Linked DNA regions of Homo sapiens: all the other regions are linked to region 2. The links are contacts of gene promoters, found by promoter capture Hi-C in blood cells and fetal thymus (Javierre and others, 2016). All regions are on one chromosome and are shown on one strand. Each heading gives the region's core, a stretch centred on a gene start or on the middle of the fragment in contact. The rest is flanking DNA. Distances are from core to core; before and after follow the strand shown.

Evidence for each region. The method cuts DNA at HindIII sites, captures the fragments that hold promoters and counts their contacts. A CHiCAGO score of 5 or more calls a contact.
Region 1: a fragment that was not itself captured here is called in contact with the fragment with the promoter of ACTL7A in region 2 in 4 of 17 cell types (M0 macrophages, naive B cells, M1 macrophages and 1 more); the score reaches 10.3 in M0 macrophages.
Region 3: a contact is called between a fragment that was not itself captured here and the fragment with the promoter of ACTL7A in region 2, in 4 of 17 cell types (monocytes, M1 macrophages, M0 macrophages and 1 more). The highest score is 8.5, in monocytes.

What each region holds. Positions count from the first base shown.
Region 1 is chr9:107,474,561-107,477,260 of GRCh38, forward strand. It overlaps the pseudogene RNU6-492P. Among named protein-coding and RNA genes, the nearest start is that of LINC01509, 9.3 kb to the left of the region's middle. The HindIII fragment of the contact is 665 bases long and covers 936-1,600 here.
Region 2 is chr9:108,860,816-108,863,515 of GRCh38, forward strand. It overlaps ACTL7A (actin like 7A), which reads left to right and starts at 1,451. Exons shown (of 1, transcript NM_006687.4): 1 at 1,451-2,700. The coding sequence starts at 1,508. The HindIII fragment of the contact is 6,848 bases long and covers 1-2,700 here.
Region 3 is chr9:107,443,936-107,446,635 of GRCh38, forward strand. It overlaps LINC01509 (long intergenic non-protein coding RNA 1509), which reads right to left. Exons shown (of 8, transcript NR_121581.1): 4 at 2,545-2,633. Among named protein-coding and RNA genes, the nearest start is that of LINC01509, 21 kb to the right of the region's middle. The HindIII fragment of the contact is 545 bases long and covers 1,056-1,600 here.

The DNA of each region.
Region 1 (2,700 bases), core at 18-2,517, 1.4 Mb before region 2:
CAACATTACATTGAATTTAGAACTTTCCAGGGCCAGGCACTGTGGCTCATGCCTGTAATCCTAGCACTTTGAGAGGTCGAGGCCCTTAAGCCCAGGAGTTAGAGACCAGCCTGGGCAACATAGGGATACCCTTGTCTCTACAAAATAATTTTTTAAAAAAATTAGCCAGGTATGGTGGTGCATGTCTGTGGTCTCAGCTACTTGGGGGGCTGAGAGGGAGAATCTCTTGAGCCCAGGCGGTTGAGGCTGCAGTGTGCTGTGATTGCACCACTCAGCCTGGGTGACAGGGTGAGACCTCATCCCCCATCTCAAAAAAAGGAAAAAAAACAAAAAAACAGAACTTTCCTCTGAAAGCCATCTTTTCTGCATGGTGTTTTTTGTTTTGTTGTTGTTTCTTTGTTTGTTTGTTTAGAAACTGATGTTTATTTTCCATCAACCTTATTTCCATGTTGCTTAAGAGCCTGTGCAAGAACAGAAAAATATGGAACACTTCACGAATTTGCATGTCATCCTTGCGCAGGGGCCATGCTAATCTCTGTATTTTTCCAATTTTAGGATATGTGCTGCCGAGGTGAGCATGGTGTTTTTTGTTTGGTTGGTTGGTTGGTTTTGTTTTGTTTTTGAGACAGTCTCACTCTGTCACCCAGGCTGGAGTGCAGTGGCATGATCTCAGCTCACTGCAACCTCTGCCTCCCAGGTTCAAGCAATTATCTTGCCTCAGCCTCCTAAGTAGCTGGGATTACTGGTGCACGACACCATGCCCGGCTAATTTTTGTATTTTCAATAGAGATAGGGCTTCGCCATGTTGGCCACGCCGGTCTGGAACTCCTGATCTGAAGTGATCCACCCACCTTGGCCTCCCAAAGTGTTGGGCTTACAGGCATGAGCCACCACACCCAGCCAGCAAGATGTTTTTGATCATCTTGATTCCTCTAAGCTTCCCTTGGGCTGTTAGGATGAAGCCATGGATGATTGGCCTGTTAAGTAAATCAGATCTAGGTGCTGGTTCCTCAGATGTCAACTTGATGTGACCTTGGGCAAGGTCACAAGTCCTTTATCTGGGTCTTTTCCTTGAGTTAAATGGTCTTGAAGATGCTTTCCTTTTCAAACGTCTTACGTAATTTTATTTTATTTTTGAGACAGGGTCTTGCTCTGTCACCCAGGTTGGAGTGCAGTAAAACAATCATAGCTCACTGCAGCCTCAGCCTCCTGGGCTCAAGGGATCTTCCCACCTCAGCCTCTTGAGGAGCCAGAACCACAGGAACATGCCACCACTCCTGGCTAATTTTGTTATTTTTTTATTTTATTTTTTATTTTTTGGAGAGACAGAGTCTCCCTATATTGACCAGGATGGTTTTGAACTCCTGGTTTCAAGTGATCCTCCCACCTCTGCCTCCCAAAGTATTGGCATTATAGTTGTGAGCTACCTACGTAATTTTACAGCTTCAGTCCTTGCAATGTTACCCATTCCTAGGTGAGGCGGTAACAGTGCCTCAAAGGCAGGGCAATGGTCAATTCCGCGCACTGTCAGAGTGAGTTTATTTAGATGTATTCAGAGGTCAGAAAACTACTGTCATCCAGGCAAACTAGAAGAGTCTCAAGCTTGAATTGGAGCAAACCAAATGGGAGGGTTTCACAGCACCCAAAGCTAAACCTTCCTGTTTGGGCAGACTGGCCCACTCAATATCCTAGAGTAGAAAGTACCCTCTTTTAGCTGGTATGGTGGCTCACGCCTATAATCGCAGCACTTTGGGAGGCCGAGGCGGGTGGATCATGAGGTCAGGAAAGTACCCTCTTTTAGCTTTTATTTTATTTTATTATTATTTTTTTGAGATGGAGTCTCGCTCTGTTGCCCAGGCTGCAGTGCAGTGGCACGATCTTGGCTCACTGCAACCTCCGCCTCCCGGTTTCAAGCGAGTCTCCTGACTCAGCCTCCTGAGTAGCTGGGATTACAGGTGCCCACCACCACGCCCAGGTGATTTTTGTATTTTTAGTAGAGATGGGGTTTCACCATGTTGGTCAGCCTGGTCTTGAACTCCTGACCTCAAGTGATTCACCTGCCTCGGCCTCCCAAAGTGCTGGGATTACAGGCGTGAGCCACCGTGCCTGGCCTAAGCTTTTAAAGTGCAATTTTTTTCTTTTTTTTTTTAGCCTTCATTATTTGTCATATGTCCATGGTACACATACCTTTTTTCTTGAAAGGAGGCCCAATGGGTCATCCAAAAAAAGGATAAAATATCTCCTTTCCCTGCTGGGTGCAGTGGCTCATGCCTGTAATCCCAGCACTTTGGGAGGCTGAGGCAGGTGGATCACGAGGTCAGGAAATCGAGACCATCCAGGCTAACACGGTGAAACCCCGTCTCTACTAAAAATACAAAAAAAATTAGCCAGGCATGGTGGCAGGTGCCTGTAGTCCCAGATACTTGGGAGGCTGAGGCAGGAGAATGGCGTGAACCGGGGAGGTGGAACTTGCAGTGAGCTGAGATGGCACCACTGCACTCCAGCCTGGGCAACTGAGCAAGACTCTGTCTCAAAAAAAAAAAAATCTCCTTTCCCCAAATTTTGGCATCCTGGAGGACATGCCCAGTGGTCTCTTAATTGCTTCCTGTAGGTCACCTGACATCCATCTGTCTTCCCCAACACACAACAAACCCCTCAAATGAACAAAACTCTTTCCAGAGTCAATGCAGAGAATTACAT
Region 2 (2,700 bases), core at 201-2,700:
GTCCTTGGGATGACACCTTGCTGCCCCCATCAGATAGTCACCACAAACCTCATGAGACTGGACTTGGTCCTTTTCTTCTCTCATACCCAACAAGGAACTGAGAGCAACTCCCGTAGCCTCTCTAAAGGAGAAAGCCCATTATTGTGGTGACTGCCTCTTTTATGAAGGGCTGGGATCAGGTTCAGGGTGTGGCATAACATAAGGTTGGATTCTGCCCTGAGTGTGGCAGGCATCCACACCAATGTGTCCAGCTTCAGAAATGGCATGCAAGATGGTGGCCAAACAGCCTAAGAGTTGCACGCTAGGTCCCATCAAGCTGTGTCCCAGCACATCCTGGGGAGGAAGCCACAGTCAGGAGAGCTTGGCTACTCCTGGTTGGATATCCTTGGGTGAGCTATGCACCTAAAAGCCTCAGTGTTGTCAGTGGGATTTTGTAGAGTCTAATTTCACTGTCTAGCCAATGACCCTGATGAAGGCACAGTAAGTGTACACATGTATATCCAAAAATAATTCCCCTTAAGGTTGTTCTAAGGGTCACCCTTAGTGCCCTTAGTCACCATAGCAGCAAAGGATTCCCACTAACATCTAAATCAGATGGTGTCAGTGCTCTGTGCCAAATCCTCTAGTGCTTTCTGACCTTACCCACGATCCTTGCATTGGCCTATGAGGCCTACCATGAGCTGCTTGCCTTCCCCCACCCCATCTCATCTACTTTTCCTTACTCCTTCTATGCCAGCCACACTTTTCTTCCTGCTCCTCCTTTAACTCGAGAGGTCGGCAAACTTTTTAAGGGTCAGTCAGTATTTACTTTCTTTCAGCTTTTTGGGCAATGCAGTCTTCAATGCTGTGACTCAGCTCTACTGTTGTACTGCAATGGCAGTCACGGACAATACGTACATGAATGAGCACGGCTGTATTCCTATCCAACAAGCCGGGGACCGGATTGGACTGCAGCCTGCTGACCCCTGATCTAACTCTTCAGTCACACATCTGCCTCCAGTCCTCTGCACCTGCTGCTCCCCTGACATACACATGGCTCTCTCCCTCACCTCCTGCAGGTCTTCATTCAAATGTCACCCTCTCAGGAAGCCCTGCCCAGGCCACACTAGCACTGCCACCCTGCTTTTGCTCTTAACGCTCATTTTGGTTATTGTCTGTCACCCCCACCCGCCACCGACTAGAATAAGGGATTTTGTCTGTTTTTTTCACCAGCGAATTCCCAGCTGCCTTGTATATAGCAGACATTCAAGAAATATTAATTAATTGAATAAATCAGTCTTGTTACGAAATTTAGGAAAAGGGGAGCCATTTCAAAAACAATATCCCAAATGTACCCTAACACAGGATAAGGGTTTGCAATATCTAGAAAGCCCAGGTCACCAGATTACATCATAATTAGTGATGTCACTGTTGGGAAAATTCTCAGGGTATCCTCTGATGTAGGCCTTTCAGGCCTTGAATCCAGTGGGATTGAGAACTTTCTAAGAGTGGTGCGGCTCTTGACAACATGTGGGCTCCACCAGCAGCAATCATGGGGGATGGGCCCACCAAGAAGGTGGGCAACCAGGCCCCCCTGCAGACACAGGCCCTCCAGACTGCCTCTTTAAGGGATGGCCCGGCGAAGCGGGCCGTGTGGGTCCGCCATACGAGTTCAGAGCCACAAGAACCTACTGAATCAAAGGCAGCCAAGGAGAGGCCCAAGCAGGAGGTGACCAAAGCAGTGGTCGTGGACCTGGGCACTGGCTACTGTAAATGTGGCTTTGCCGGCCTGCCAAGACCCACCCACAAGATCTCAACAACGGTGGGCAAGCCCTACATGGAGACCGCCAAGACTGGGGATAATCGCAAGGAGACATTCGTGGGGCAGGAACTCAACAACACAAACGTTCATCTCAAGCTGGTTAACCCTCTGCGACATGGCATCATCGTGGACTGGGATACAGTGCAGGATATCTGGGAATATCTCTTCCGACAAGAGATGAAGATCGCCCCGGAGGAGCATGCGGTCTTGGTTTCAGACCCGCCACTGAGCCCACACACCAACAGAGAGAAATATGCTGAAATGCTGTTTGAAGCCTTCAACACCCCTGCAATGCACATCGCCTACCAGTCGCGCCTGTCCATGTACTCCTATGGAAGGACCTCCGGCCTGGTGGTGGAGGTGGGCCATGGCGTGTCCTACGTGGTCCCCATCTACGAGGGTTATCCTTTGCCCAGCATCACCGGAAGGCTGGACTACGCGGGCTCTGACCTGACAGCCTACCTGCTGGGCCTGCTGAACAGTGCGGGGAACGAATTCACCCAGGACCAGATGGGCATCGTGGAGGACATCAAGAAGAAATGCTGCTTTGTGGCCCTGGATCCCATTGAGGAGAAGAAAGTCCCTCTCAGTGAGCATACGATCCGCTACGTGCTGCCGGATGGGAAGGAGATTCAGCTGTGCCAGGAACGGTTCCTCTGCTCGGAGATGTTCTTCAAGCCATCTCTCATCAAGTCCATGCAGCTGGGCCTCCACACCCAAACCGTGTCCTGCCTTAACAAGTGTGACATCGCCCTCAAACGGGACCTCATGGGGAACATCCTGCTCTGCGGGGGCAGCACGATGCTCAGTGGCTTCCCTAACCGTCTGCAGAAGGAGCTAAGCAGCATGTGTCCCAATGACACCCCGCAGGTAAACGTGCTGCCTGAAAGAGACAGTGC
Region 3 (2,700 bases), core at 78-2,577, 1.4 Mb before region 2:
TGGCTTGAGCCCAGGAGTTCAAGACAGTAGTGAGCTATGACCATGCCTGTGAATAGCCACAGCACTACAGCCTGGGCAACGTAGCAAGATCCCATCTCTTAATTTTAAAAAACCCTCTGAAAAATAAAGACATTATATTTTTCTTGTGAATCATGTATAAGATGATGAATCAAGTATCATTCCTTTTCTTCATCTTAAAACAACCTCTTTCTCATCTGTCTTGCAGTGAGCTCTTCTCCAGAAGTTGGAGTTAAATCTTAGGGTTTCTGCAGCACCGTGTGTTGCTGAGTGCTGGCGCACACCTGTAATCCCAGATACACCTTGCATGGAGTGACTTATTCACATGTAGGTTCTCCCTGCTGGAATCGATCCTTTTGAGAACAGAGACACATCCTTTATCTCCAACGTTGCCAGAGCCTGGCACAGTGGTGCTGCTCAAGCAGGAGCTGTTGAATGTCTGAAGGAAAGAAATTGTTTCTTGATTTTGATCATACATCTCTCCTCTCAGGCTTTGCCCTTCGAAACCCCAAAGCCCTAATATCCTCCGTGAGCTGCCTGTGTGTGCTGTACCTCGCAGCATCTCAAAAGAGGCCTAAAGCCACATTCTGTAGTCAGGGTGTGTGTATGCATGTGGGTAAAGATGCACAAACACGCACTCCGGTTATTCTGGTTACACAGCATCGCACTGAAAACCCCACAGTATCAGGCTGTTCTCATTTAAGTGCTTAAAAACAACAACCCCTTCCATTCACTCAAAAGTGCTTCATGATTTCCAAAGTGCTTCCACGTCCATTCACTCAGCTCAAAACTCACGGCCACCTTAGGAGGTGAGTAGGGCTCATTCCTTTCATTTTACAAATAGGGAAACCGAAGCTCAGAGAGGGAAACTATTTTGGCCAAACTCAAACAGCTCCACGTCTTCCAGTCCCAAAGTCAGAGACTTCCTGGCACATAGTGACGGGTTGGTATAGGAAACTACATGGTGCTTAGTTTCTGTCCAGGGATGAAGTTGCATTGCTCTCATGCCCTGGCTTGTTACTAAGACTGGGGTCAGAAGCTTGTTTCTCAGGCTGAGCTGAATGGGAAATAAAAACTTCACAGTAGAAAAGCAGTGCTCCGGCCGGGCGCGGTGGCTCATGCCTGTAATCCCAGCACTTTGGGAGGCTGAGGTGGGTGAATCACAACGTCAAGAGTTCAAGACTAGCCCGGCCAACATGATGAAACCCTGTCTCTACTGAAAATACAATAAATTAGCCAGGTGTAGTGGTGGGTGCCTGTAATCCCAGCTACTCAGGAGGCTGAGGCAGGAGAATCACTTGAACCCGGGAGGCGGAGGTTGCAGTAAGCTGAGATCACGCCACTGCACTCCAGCCTAGACGACGGAGCTAGACTCCATCTGAAAAAAAAAGAAAAGAAAGAAAGCAGTGCTCCATGTCTTGCAAGTTCAACAACTGTAGCTCTTCAGAGCCTCCACTCAGTATGGCTTTATAGTAGGCAGTCTTATTTCTGAATTAACTTAGCTATGTGTCCTTCCTCCAACGATTCGCAGAGGAGACACCTGACCCAGCCTGGGGTAGGAGTGCTGGGTATTGGTAAGAGAAGCTTCTAGAGGAATGAAAGCCTGAGCTACTCAGCTCAAGGATGAGTGGCCATTAGCCAGGCATGGGGTACAGTGAGTGAGGATACACAGAGGTCAGGCAGGGAGAAGGACATTAACCTAGGGAAAGAGCTTAAGTGAAGATAGACTTCATGTCTACACATCCACCTTCATGATTTTCACTCCATAAGATTGCCACCTATACGATATTTATGTAATATTCGTATTGGACTATATTTAAAATTTAAATATAATTAAATAAAAAAGACATAGTAGGTTGGGTGTGGTGGCTCACTCCTGTAATCCCGACACTTTGGGAGGCCGAGGTGATGGATCACCTGAGGTCAGGAGTTCAAGACCAGCCTAACCAACATGGAGAAACCCCATCTCTACTAAAGCCAGGTGTGGTGGCGGGCATCTGTAATCCTCAGGAGTCTGAGGCAGGAGAATTGCTTGAACCCAGGAGGCGGAGGTTGCTGTGAGCCGAGATCACGCCACTGCACTCCAGCCTGGGCGACAAGAGCAAAACATCGTCTCAAAAAAAAAAACAAAAACAAACAAAAAAACCCACATAGCACATCATGGGTTTGCTTGCTGCTTTTTTCTAATATACATTAAAATAAATACCTAGCTGGGCACGGTAGCTCACTCCTGTAATCCTAGCACTTTGGGAGGCCGAGGCAGGAGGATCACCTGAGGTCAGGAGTTTGAGACCAGTCTGACCAGCATGGAGAAACCCCATCTCTACTAAAAATACAAAATTAGCCAGGCATGGTGGCGGGCGCCTGAAATCCCAGCTACTTAGGAGGCTGAGGCAGGAGAATTGCTTGAACCCAGGAGGCAGAGTTTGCAGTGAGCCGAGATTGCACCATTGCACTCCAGCCTGGGTGACAAGAGTGAAACGCCATCTCAAAAATAAATGAATAAATAAATAAATAAATAAATACCTAATTATTCAAGTGAAAAAACAGTCATCCTTTTATTCCCACAAAATCCTCTGGTATATCCAGGTAGAATGAGTACCACATTTGGGAATCTGTAAACAAAGGCACAGCGATGAGTAAGAGTGTGGGGGTGATGGGGCTGTTGAGAAAGCAGCGGGA